Linked DNA regions of Homo sapiens: region 2 is linked to region 1. Evidence: promoter capture Hi-C in human tissues and cell types (Jung and others, 2019). All regions are on one chromosome and are shown on one strand. Each heading gives the region's core, a stretch centred on a gene start or on the middle of the fragment in contact. The rest is flanking DNA. Distances are from core to core; before and after follow the strand shown.

Evidence for each region. The method cuts DNA at HindIII sites, captures the fragments that hold promoters and counts their contacts. A contact is called where the count stands out against the background at its distance.
Region 2: the fragment with the promoter of ACTRT2 here is called in contact with the fragment with the promoter of PEX10 in region 1 in 1 of the 25 tissues and cell types used here (H1 embryonic stem cells).

What each region holds. Positions count from the first base shown.
Region 1 is chr1:2,408,091-2,414,251 of GRCh38, reverse strand. PEX10 (peroxisomal biogenesis factor 10) reads left to right here and starts at 1,688. Exons shown (of 6, transcript NM_002617.4): 1 at 1,688-1,861; 2 at 3,801-3,881; 3 at 5,394-5,800. The coding sequence starts at 1,750. RefSeq lists enhancers at 719-1,298, 1,299-1,879, 1,880-2,460, 2,461-3,041, 5,070-5,570 and silencers at 963-1,562, 1,723-2,102. The HindIII fragment of the contact is 18,898 bases long and covers 1-6,161 here.
Region 2 is chr1:3,018,090-3,024,250 of GRCh38, reverse strand. It overlaps ACTRT2 (actin related protein T2), which reads right to left and starts at 2,784. Exons shown (of 1, transcript NM_080431.5): 1 at 1,348-2,784. The coding sequence starts at 2,564. The coding sequence ends at 1,431. The HindIII fragment of the contact is 18,700 bases long and covers 1-6,161 here.

The DNA of each region.
Region 1 (6,161 bases), core at 439-2,938:
GGTGGGGGATGCCTCCTAGAGCAGGCCCTCCCGTCAGGGGCCCATCATAGAACCCAGTGTGAATCCAAAGGAGCCGAAGCCTCCTCCTCAGAATCAGACGTGGAGCCATGAACCCAGGGGCCAGAGCGGCATCTCAAACTGTTATCTAAGCATTGACCAGAACACATGATCACCTCAGCGGCTCCACGTGGGCGATGCCGGGTTGCCTGGTCCACGGATGAGGGGTTCAGCCCAAGGTGCTCAACCCAATCAGAGGGCAGCCTCTGTGTCCAGGAGACACGGGTGCACCCGCGGGGTCAGAACTCCAAAGGGGCGCGGGGGCGCTGGGAGGTTTGGTAGCCAGAGGGCCTGCGGGGCGGGGCCACCCAGGCCATGCCCCTTCCCTGTAAGAGGGGCCATTCCTGCAGTGTGGGGCTCTGGCTTTGTGACTGGGCTGTGCCAGTCTGGGGATGATCCCACAGCTGAGCTCCTGTAGATGGAACCAGAGGTGAGGCAAGGAACTGGAGGCCCTCCCCACTGAGGTCAGCGGGGCGCAGACGCCCCCTTGTCGTGCCCTGCCTTCCTCCTGCAATCCTGCAGGACTCTCCAGGGCCAAGTGCTGCCCTTGGGGCCAAAAAACAGGGCCTTCTCCTTCACCTGCCCTGCAGCCATTCAGGTATGTACCAGGCATCTCCTGCCCTCCCTGGCCAGGCGGCCCCAGAGGCACAGGCCGCAGACACCGCAGGCGACCTGCGTGGGCCTCCAGTTCCCGCCCCAGCCCTTCCCACCCCCAGCTCAGGGCAGGTCCAGCTGTGGCCAGCGGCTGGGGAAGGTTCTGTCCCCTCCAGGTGTGCGGCCTTGGCAAGTGCTTCAGGCCTCCCTCCGCTCGTCCCCTGGGAGCAGAGGGATCGGAGCGCCTGCGATGTGGTTCCCCAGAGCACCTGCGGGGCTCAGGCCAGGCAGGGTGGAGGGTGGAGGGTGGAAGGCCACCTTCCGCCCGTCCTGGAACCACGCGGCGGCTTCCCGGCTGCCCCCCACCCGCCAGGCCCTGCCTCCCGTGGGCACCAGGGGGGCGTCCACACCAAGCCGGCCGTGTGCTTTTCGCGCAGGATTACTGGGGAAGGCGGCTGCTCGGGGCCTGGAAGGTCCCGGGTCTCGCCTCGTGCCCCTCTGGCCCCCAAACCGACCGGCTCCCCGGAACTGGCCAACCCGCGCTGAGAGCCCGCGCAGCTCAAAGGGCGCGAGGGCGGGACCGCCGCGGCCGGCGCTGGGAGCTCGGCTTCCCGAAGACCCAAGCGAAAGCCTCCGTCTCCCCAGCCGTAAATGGGCCTGCAGCGTCTCCACTCCGCAGCGCTGTCCCCAGTGGGAGGGCGGCCCGTGGACGTGCAGGGAGCAGAGCAGGGGCCCCTGGCAGCGTAGGACCCCGAGGTCGCAGCAACCACGCGGCCGCGAGCCCATCCCGCTGCCTCGCCAGCGCCCCTCGCGCGTGCCCCGCCCCCACCTCGGCTCGCGGGCCCCGCCCCGCTCCGCTCCGCCCTGCGCCTCCGACTACCTTCCCGCTGCCCCGCCCCGCGCTGCGCTGGTTCGGACTCCAGCCCCGCTTCCGCCCGGGCCCTGGCCCCGCCTCCAGCCCCAGTCCGGCCCCGCCCCAGCACCTTGACGCAGAGGTCTGCGCCGCACGCAGAGCCACGTCGTGCCGTCATCAGTTCTCGCCCGTCTGGGCGTGGGCGTGGCCGGCGTGGCTGCTCGGGACCACCCGAACCCGCGGCCATGGCCCCGGCCGCCGCCAGCCCCCCGGAGGTGATCCGCGCGGCGCAGAAGGACGAGTACTACCGCGGTGGGCTGCGGAGCGCGGCGGGCGGCGCCCTGCACAGCCTGGCGGGTGAGGGCCGGGCGCGGCCGGACGTCCTCGCGAGCGGCCCAGGGGGTGTTGCCCCTCATGGAGGCGGGGTGTCTGCCGTGTGTGGTCACGGTCGCCTGGGCCCGTCCCACAACCTGGGACCCGGCAGTCTCCTTCGCCTGCCCTGCGGCCATTCAGGGATGTGCGGGGCACCTCCTGCCCTCCCTGGCCAGGTGGCCCCAGAGGCACAGGCCGCAGACACCGCGGGGGACCTGCGTGGGCCTCCAGTTCCCGCCCAAGCCCTTCCCGTCCCCAGCTCAGGGCAGGTCCAGCTGACGCCAGCGGCTGGGGAAGACTCTGTCCCCTCCAGGTGTGAGGCCTTGGCAAGTGCTTCAAGCCTCCCTCCGATCCTCCCCTGTGAGCAGAGGGGTCAGAGCGCCCGCGGCGCGAACGCCTCATACCTCGGTCCGGTTCACACTGACCCCGGCCTTTCCTAGGCCTGAGCAGCAGCCCAGGCCCCTCGCCCTGCTGACCCCAGTGTAGGCTCAGCCAGGCCCTGCCTGCCTCACCAGGCCGGGAGCTGAGTACAGAAGCCAGTGTACTCAATGAAGCAGCACCTGTCATCCCAGCAGTTTGGGAGGCAGAGGCGGGAGGATCGCTTGAGCCCAGGAGTTTGAAACCAGCCTGGGCAACATGGCAAGACCCCGTCTCTACAAAAAATCTGAAAATTAGCCGGACGTGGTGGCGGCGTCTGTAATCCCAGCTCTTCAGGAGGCTGAGGCAAGAGAATCGCCTGAGCCCGAGGGATGAGGCTGCAGTGAGCCATGATTGTGCCGCTGCACTCCAGCCTGGGCGACGGGGCCAGACCCCATCACCGATTAAAAAACGAAAAAAAAAAGATGCCGGGTGTGGTGGCTCACGCCTGTAATCCCAGCACTTTGGGAGGCCGAGGCGGGTGGATCACTTGAGGTCAGGAGTTCGAGACCAGTCTACACAACATGGTGAAACCCCGTCTCTACTAAAAATACAAAAATCAGCAGGGCGTGGTGGCGCGTGCGTGTAATCCCAGCTACTTGGGAGGCTGAGACAGAATCACTTGAACCCGGGAGGCGGAGGTTGCAGTAAGCCAAGATCGTGCCACTGCACTCCAGTCTGGGCAACAGAGTGAGACTCCATCTCAAAAAAAAAAAAAAAAAAAAAAAGGCAAAGCCATCAAGTCTTTGGGGGGTGGGGCAGGCAGTCGTTAAAGGCATGAACTCCCAGCAGAACGTTTCAGGGAGCAGTGGCACTAGAGCCCAGTGGTGGGGGTGTCGTGGCCAAAGGAACAGTGCCATGGGACAGGAAGAGCATGGGTAAATATCAGAGGACAGCCAGGCTCCGTGCCGGGAGGCCCATGGGTGTCAGGTGGGCAGCCATTGGTGGATTCTGAACAGGAGAGTGACATGATGAGAATTTTTTGTGTGTGTACTTACTTGTTTTACAGTACACTTGGCACTTACCCCTGTGCCAGACACTGTTCCCAGTGTTTTACAAATATTGAATCTTCAAACATCCCTCCAAGTAGGACTTATTACTCTTCTGATAGATGAGCAAATTGAGATTCCAGAAAGACCTCACAGCCAGCAAGTTGGAGAGCTGCTTTTTGATGCTAGACAGTTGGCCTCTGGCCTGTAATCTTAATACCCCAGACCATCTTTCCATGTGGCCCTCATAGGCCCTAGAACAGTTGCTCAGGGGAATCCCGGAGCAAGAGATGAGCACAGGTGGGAGATTCTTCGCAGACTGTCTGCAGCTCACGCTAAGGCAAGTCAAGGTGGTGCCTCCGGAGACAGAAGCAGAGAGGGAGGCCAGGGAGTGAGTGTTGGCTTCATGGAAGGGGTGGGACTGGATCTGGGCCTAGACAACTGGGGGAGGACTGTGGTCCCTCATCCTCAGAGGATGCCCACCAGCTCCCCCGGACTAATACTGTTTCTCCTCTCAGGTGCGAGGAAGTGGCTGGAGTGGAGGAAGGAGGTTGAGCTGCTCTCAGATGTGGCCTACTTTGGCCTCACCACACTTGCAGGTAGAAGCTCCCACGGGACCTCAGGACTGAGGGCAGCCACACACACCAAGTCTGGGGACGGTGGCCAGGGGGCTGCCAGGCAGTGTGAGAAGCTCCTGGAGCTGGCCCGGGTGAGGTTGCTTCAGGGAAGTGCAGGAGGTACTGCTCCGAGGGAGGCGAGGCATCTGCTCCCAGCAGGGAGCCGACTTTTCCAGCCTTTGTGTGTCCCTGGGGTTCTTTGTTTAAGACTTTACCCCGGGTGCCACTGAGACCCATTTCTCAGTGGCCAGCCCTGGTGGCACCAGTGAGTCACAGTGCTGAGCCATGTCATAGGGTGCAGTGCCCGTGTGACAGTGCCCTGGTGGAGCAGTGGTGGGTCTGTGGCCCAGGCTGGTCACCACCCTTTAGAGGGAGTTGTTGACAGAAGCTCTCAGGCTCCCAACCCCAGCTCAGCATGTAGCAAGGACCACCGAGTGCCAGCCTGGTTCCCTACGAGGGGCTCGCCCCGGGCATCCTGCCGCCATGGAGAGTGTGCTCGGTGGGCGGGAGACAGATGTGGCTGCGTCACAGAGCATCTTGGGAAGTGAGGGGCTCTCAGAGATAAAGACCACGTCTTAGGGAAGAGCATTTTCCAGACCGGCAGAGCAAGCAGCCGGGAAAGGCCCTGAGAAGAACACGTCCTTGGCGGTTTGGGAGAATGACCCCGGGGGGCTCGTGAGTTTTGTAAGCCCATAGCTTTCCCTGTGCGAGGCTTGGGGCATTCCAGGGACGTGGGCAGGGGAGAGGCCGACCACTAGCTAAGACCAGACCTCAGGGGACAAAGTTGGGCTCAGGGAGACTACAGAGGCTGTGACAGTCCCCCACAGGATGGTGGTGGTACAGAGCAGGGGCGGCAGCGAGGGGGTGGAACACACAGGGAAGGTGCATGCAGGGTGCCCCTTGGGCTTGACCTCAGGAACCGGAGGCCTGGCGTTGCCATCCACAGAGATGGAAACGGGGAGCAGGCTTTTCTGGGTGGGGGCGCTGAAAGCTGTCTCGGCAGGGGTGGAATTGGGGTGCTCATCTGAGCATACATGGCGATGTCAGGTAGGTGGCGGACCTGCATGGCTGGCACTCACAAGTAAGGTCCAGGCTGGGCATAAATCGGGTGGTGCCAGCTGTGTGGTTGGTGGAGAGCCATGGGACTGGATCCGAGTGCTTGGGCTGGGGGAGGTGGCGGGGACAGCTAGGGAGAAAGGGGAAAGAGCAGAGACTCTTGGGGAGAAGCCAAGAGAGGGAGGGACACTGGCCAGCCAAGGCCCTGGGAGCCAAGGGCAGCCATTGGCCGGGCCTGTCATGTGCTGCCTGAGCTCACAGTGGGCTTAGCGACAGAAGGTCATGTTGGCCTCAGCCAGCACGGGGTGACAGTGGGCTCAAGGGCGACAAGATGGGGCTGTTGACAGGAGCCAGCAGAGGGTCGGCTGGCAGGGGCGCCGGGAGCCTGTCCCCGCGGCAGCAGTCTCAGGGTCCACATACCCATCCTCTTCCTCGCAGGCTACCAGACCCTGGGGGAGGAGTACGTCAGCATCATCCAGGTGGACCCATCGCGGATACATGTGCCCTCCTCGCTGCGCCGTGGCGTGCTGGTGACACTGCATGCCGTCCTGCCCTACCTGCTGGACAAGGCCCTGCTCCCCCTGGAGCAGGAGCTGCAGGCTGACCCCGACAGTGGGCGACCCTTGCAGGGGAGCCTGGGGCCAGGTGGGCGTGGCTGCTCAGGGGCGCGGCGCTGGATGCGTCACCACACGGCCACCCTGACTGAGCAGCAGAGGAGGGCGCTGCTGCGGGCGGTCTTCGTCCTCAGACAGGGCCTCGCCTGCCTCCAGCGGCTACATGTTGCCTGGTTTTACATCCACGGTGTCTTCTACCACCTGGCCAAGAGGCTCACGGGGATCACGTACGTAAGTAGCAGGCGCTGAGGGCACAGCTGCTTAGGCCGTCCTTGTCACCCCCACTGGACTTGGGTGCATGCACAGAGCTGGCCCTCCAGGCCTCTCAGCCAACAGGGTTCTACATCCAGCATCTGTGTCAAGGCAGGAACCCAAATCCTCTGCTTGGAAAAAAAGCAGATTTTGTTTAATTACACTTGGCTGAAAGATCCAAGGAAGTCCAGACCCTAAGTGTAGAATGAACTCCTGCTGCAGCCCCTCATGGACACCGGGCCCTGCGCTTAGCTCTTTACTGACCGGGGGGCCCCGGGTCACGCCTCACCACAGATCCCTGAACCTGGGCCCGTGACTGCCTATGTCACTGCTGTGGGGA
Region 2 (6,161 bases), core at 1,535-4,034, 610 kb before region 1:
CATCATATACATCCCGGCATATACGGCGTAATACCCAGGGTGACCACTAAGAAACCTACAAAAACGAGGTACTCTAAACACGCTAAATAAATCAAGACACAATCCTGAAACATGTTCCAGTAACCCAGAGGGAGGTAAGAAAAGAGAAACAGGAATGAGAAGCAGAAGACACAGCAGAGAGTGATCAGATGGCAGACTTGAGATTCCGTGTATCAATGAGTTACCAGGTAAATGGACTAAATACACCAACTGAAAGGCAGAGATTGGTAGGGTGGATAAGAAAACGACCCAGCTATACGCCGTCTTCACACCAGCCCCATGCTCACTTCCAACAGCATAGGTCGGTTGAAAGTGAAATGGTGGAAAAAGATGCACTTTGTGAAGATTGAAAGACACACGCATTTCAGGTAAATGGGTTTATTTCATTCAGGCTGAATTTCCTGAGTACTTTTTTCTCCTTTCTTCTTTCCGCCTGCATTGCGTCTCCCTCCCTCTTCCCTTGGCGACATGCTGGAACCCACAGTGCATGCACTTGGTAACCACATAGAACACAGGTATGGGTCCACACGAAGCAGCGGACATAGGCAAAGACATGGGGAAGGGGCGCTGTTTTCTTTTCCAAAAAACCAAGGGAAGGACCATGGCGTAAAGAGTTATCTGTATTTTCCACTTCTCTCCCAATAATATTTTGGGTTAATTCCACCACATCAATGTGGAAAAATTCCCTCCATGCATAATTTACTCAACCGTTAACATTGGTGATGGCCATTAACTTTGTTTCCAGCATTCTGCCCCCAAACAATGATGCTATAAACATCACTGAAAGTAAAAACAAACAGAAGAATCACACTTGCTAAGCAGAAGTGTTGATTCTTTGTACTTCCTTTGGGAGCAGGACCCCTGAGTTTAGAGGGCCCTAAACAAACGGTGACTTCTGTTCCCGTCTGTTCCTATCTGCTGAGAGCGGCAGCTCCACCCTGTTCAGCCGCCCGGCCTCACACAAGCAGAGCCCCGGCCCTGGCATGCTAGGTAGGGCCCACACAGGGAGGGGTTTCTTGCTGAGCCGTCAGAACCTGGTGCACGCGCTAGTCCCCACCATCCCTGCCGACTCTCTCAGCCCACCTAAGACCCTTGTTTAGAATGCGGACTCCAGCGCCCTATTCACCTGAGGCCCAGGGCCCTACTTTCATACAAACTGCAGATGGACACAGCCTGGCCTCAGCCCAGGCTTTCTTGGGAGGAAGCGAAGGGGAGCGGGTGTGGACCAAGACACTTCACAGATTCACTGTCAGGGCCAGAAATGACTCTGCCGCCCCCAAGAAGGAACTGAGCCGAGGTGGCCAGGTGTTCCGGCATTGGTCCTTTATTGAACATCCTCCCAAAGCTGGGGCTAGGGTTCACCCCCCACGGTACCCAACGAGAAGCGGCCTTCAGAAGCATCTTCTCTGCACCACGGAGGTCCCAAACTCCTTGAAGTCTGCGGCGGTGACCCACATCTGCTTGAAGCTACTCAGAGAGGTGACGATGGAGGCTCCAATCCAGGTGGAGAACCACCGGTCGGGGGGAGCCGTGATCTTGATGGGGGTGTCCTTGGAGGCCAGCTGCTCCAGCTCCTTGAGAAGCCGGTCATCCAGCCCGTGGAACAGGGTAGTGCCCCCCGACAGCACAATCTCCCCAAAGAGGATCTTCTGGATGTCGGTATCACACTTGGTGATGCTGCTGGAGACCATATTCGAGAGCCCGGGGCTCTGGCTGCCCAGCTGCTGGGGCACGAACAGGGCCTCGGGCGCCTGGTGCAGCGGGTCCCCGAGGCTGATGATGTTCCCGTCGGGCAGCTTGTACTCCCTCAGGACCTCCTCCGGCCTCCGGGAAAGCTCCTTCTCGGGCTCCAAGGCCACGTAGCACAGCTTCTTTTTGATGTCGTCCACGAGACCCTTGTCCAGCTGGCAGGGGAAGGTGTGGCCGCTGGCCAGGAGCAGCTGCATGAGGAGCTCCGTGATGTCCCTGCCCGCCACGTGGAGCTTGGTGACTGCGTGGGGCAGGGAGTAACCCTCAAAGATGGGGACAGTGCAGGTGACCGCATCCCCGCTGTCCACCACCAGGCCCGTGACACAGGCAGAGGCGTAGAGAGCCAGCACCGCCTGGTCCGACAGGTAGAAAGCGGGCACGCCGAAGTTCTCGAACATGACTTCTGCCATCTTCTCACGGTTCTCCCTGGGGTTCAGGGAGGGCTCCGTTGCAAGCAGGGGCTGGTCGCTGGGTTTCACGCCTAGCTCCCACTCAAAGAGGTGCTTCCAGAGTCTCTCCACGTCATCCCACCCTGTGATCAGGCCACGCTCGAAAGGGGAGTGCAGCTGCAGGGCCTCCTGCTTGTACAGGGCCTCCTCCCCCACAAAGTACTTCTTCTGGTTGGCCTCTGCTGAGGGAGCCTGGAATTTCAGGTGCCCCACGATGGAGCTGACCATGTGCCGGGGTCCAAACTCCCCAGACAGGCCCGCTTTGCAGAACCCCGAGCCATTGTCAAAAATCACAGCCGGGGAGTCTAAAGCGTGCGGATTAAACATGCCCGCAGCCTTCCCTTCTCAGCCTCATCAAAATAAAGACCAGCCCTCCAGGGCCGCTTTGTGATGCAATAGGGGATCCCACAGCTCTTCCCACAGCTCTCGGGGTGTCTCAAGGCAGGGCTAGCACCGTGCCCGGGAGCCCTGCATCCTCAGCCGCAGGTCTGCTCTCCCTCCAGGTGGCCTGGGCCTGCTGAGGCCTCTTCCAGGGGGCCAGGGGGTTGTCTCCTAGGTAACAATCTAGCCAAGGCAACGATTGTCCTGAGCCTCAGAGGCCCTGGGGGTGGGGCTCTGAGTCCCCCATCCCCCACAGGGTGAGGTGAGAGAGAGAGAGAGAGACAAGTGCATCCTAGGGCGGTGCTGGACAAGCCTGTGGGCTGAGGCAGAGACTTAGCTTTAGAGTGGAGAGAAGCAGCCCAGCCTGCGTGCACCCTAGAAAACCAGCTTCTCTGGCCCCTGAGCTGCAACTTCTGGGGTGACAACACTTCCCTTTGCTAAGGGGGAAAACCAAGCACCAGGTCGGAGGGGTGTTGTAAGCAGTTCTGTCCCAGCAGGCACTTAGAATGTGCTTTTGAATAGTGATTCCCCCAGGAAGCTCTCAGGGATTTCTCCTCCCTCCATCCCATTAGTCCTGGCTGTCTGTCCCACTGGGTAGACCCTATTCAAAGCCCTCTGGGCTGCTGGCCCTTTGTCCAGGAATACATCTCTGCTCTGGCTTGAGGCCAGCACCCCTCATTCCTCTCTGCAGACTCTGAAGTGCCAGCACACAACAAAGTCCAGCAGCCATAGAGTTGGGAACCCAACAGCCCTGAAGATATGGCCTGCTGGTTTCACATGGGTAGCCTGGATTGCAGCCTGTGACACCTCTCTGTGTCTATGAGCTGCCACACAGTCAGGCCACAACCACAGAGCAATGCTCAGAGGTGACCAGGCCATTAAAGGTCAAGGCCTGAGCATGACCAGGAAGGAGGCACCGGGCCAGGCCAAGGGCACCCACAACAGTGCACGCCCGGCACTCAGACCCCCGCTTTGTCTTCCGCTTGGGGAGAAAGTGGGAGGGGATCCAACCTGGGAACCAGCTTCACTTTTTTCCTAAGGAGGTTGGAGGTGGCCTTGGAGAATGTGAGGTTTATTCTACCTCTCCTGTCATATCCACAATCATGCTCCAGCCCAGCTTGGCCCCCCAGAGTTCTCCCAGAGGACGCCTCCCGGGGTCACTCCCTTCCTGGAGCCCCTCAGCTCCTGCTGGTGGCCCCCTCTGTGTGTCCTGCCTGCCCTGCTGACCCACCAGCAGGCATTAATCCGATGGTGGTGTAGACACATGTTGTAGATGGGCAGTCTAGACACGTGGTACAGACATGTGGTGTAGACACGAGGTACAGACGCATATGGATGTGCCGTGTAGATGCATGGGATAGATGGGTGGTGTAGACACGCGCGGTACACTCGTTGTTGATGTGTGGTGTAGATGTGTCTTGTTGACACGTGGTTTTGTGGGCCCCACTAATCCCTGGGTGGTAGTCAACAAAAACTTGATTATTGAAGGATTTTCCTAGAGGGGACCCCCCCAGAGGGAAACTGAGTCAAAAGCGTGCCAGGGCAGGTGTGGCTCTTAAATCTCCATTTCTCTGGAAACTGTGGCAGCCACCACACAGCTTGCTTGCAGTCGTCTCAGAGACCCCGGGCTCCCTGAGGCAGTAGGTGTGGACGGAGGCACTGACCCATGGGCACGGCCTAGGGCCCTGAGGCCTCCTTCGAAACCTGTTGACCCAGACGCTGGAGCTCCTCCCTGCCCACATCAAGGTCACCCCGCAGGTCCTGCTGAAGGTCACCTGAGGCCTGTGCTGGGGGACACGGAGAGTGTCCCGGGGCAGGGGCAGGCACCATCCCGACCCTGCTCCTGTTCGATAGCAGGCACGGGCAGAGGGTGCCCCCCTTGAACGCCATCTTCCAGGGGCAGGCGCCATCCCAACCCCGCTCCTGTTCGATAGCGTGCACGGGCAAATGGTGCCCCCCTCGAAGGTCATCTTCCAGGCAGGTCCCAGGCTGCGAGGTGACTCATCCTCCAATGCCTTTCTGGCTGTCCCATGCAGCCACATTCACAACAGAAGGACCACCCTGCGCGGGAAGGGTTCCCTCCTCGCTGAACTAGGAGACCACAGGCGCCAGTCCTGGGAAATACAAGTGGGCCCATCCCTGCTGACCTGCACAACCTGGGGTCCTGGCAGAGGTGTGGCTGTCCACAAGGCTGGCCCTTTGAAGCCCTGGGACAGGATCTGGGAGGCTCTCTCCTGGCTCTGCAGAGGGGCAAGGTCCCTCTCAGTCACATGCCCTGCTGAGCACTGGCTCAACATCAGCCGATGCTACCAGAGATGGCCCCAGATGGGCACCAGGTTTACCCAGGAGGGCGAGAGAGTGCCGCTCAGGGATGGTACGTGCCCCCCCGGCTGAGCCCTCTCTGCCCACAGCCCCCGGCTAAGCCCTGTCTACCTTGTAGAGATGGCCTTGGCCTGGGAAGGGCCCGCAAGGCTGGGACGACTAAGCCTGCTGTGTTGTCTCCCAGACCCCGGCTCTGCACAGTCCAGGTCCACCACCAACCTGTGGGGATTGCTAAGGTTTCGAGTCTCACATTTTGGGGAGAGCATTCCCTGGCTGGCTGCTGCGCCTTGGGGTTCCAGCCTGCAGCCATCACAGAGGGTCTGCATCCTTGGTTCTCAGGTGTGGCTGGAAGTGCGTCAGTGTCGCCCAATACTCGGGGCTGAGCTGAGAGGAACGTGCTCCGATGCTTTCTAGATTTTGGCTCTGCCGGTGGCCACAGTGGGAGGCAGTGGCAATGCTGGTGCGGAGGGCTCTTGGGTCAGGCACACAGATGCTTTGAGGTGGCCCTGGGCGGGCTGGGGTCTTGGGCATTTGCAGGCAGGACAGAGGAGGAGGCAGACGCCGCTAAGCCTGGGCTGCTGAGCTCCCGGTGGGGTGTTGTGGGGCTTCTGAGGTTCCTCCATCCCCTGTTGCTGTCACAAGGCACAGTCACAGCACCCCGGGCACAGCCTCTTACCCTTGTGCATGTCCTGCAAAAACACACAGGCCCCCGCCCCCGCCCTCCCCGGCCCGGCTGCTTCCCCAGCCTCCACATTAGGTCTGGGACTTTCCACCTATTTTCAGCTCTTCTCGGTCCCTCCATGACCCCTGCCAGTCCCCGTTTTGGAGAAGACAAGGGCATACCCCCAAGTACACAACTGGGAAAGCCGGGGCACTGGCAGCACAGTGGCCCTGGGCCAGGTCCTTTTTTCCCTAAATGTTTTCACTGTCCCTGCTGAGCCTGGGAGAAGTGGTGCCCTTGGCCTTGGGTCTGGTGCCCTGACCCATCCTGGTAACTCAGGAGAGTCGTGGCCGAGATGCCACATGCCCGGCAGAGCAGGCCCTTCGAAGCCCACCACATTGCTGTTTGTCTATTTGGGAGAAGCAATTGGCAGGCAGGGTGGTCTTGCCCTAGTTACCATCGGGATGCCTGGACACCCGGGGCGACGCTGGCTCCGTCACCGTCGTATCTGGGTTTGCTGTTGGAGCCGAGAACCTCAGGGGCAAGGCCTGGCTCAGGGC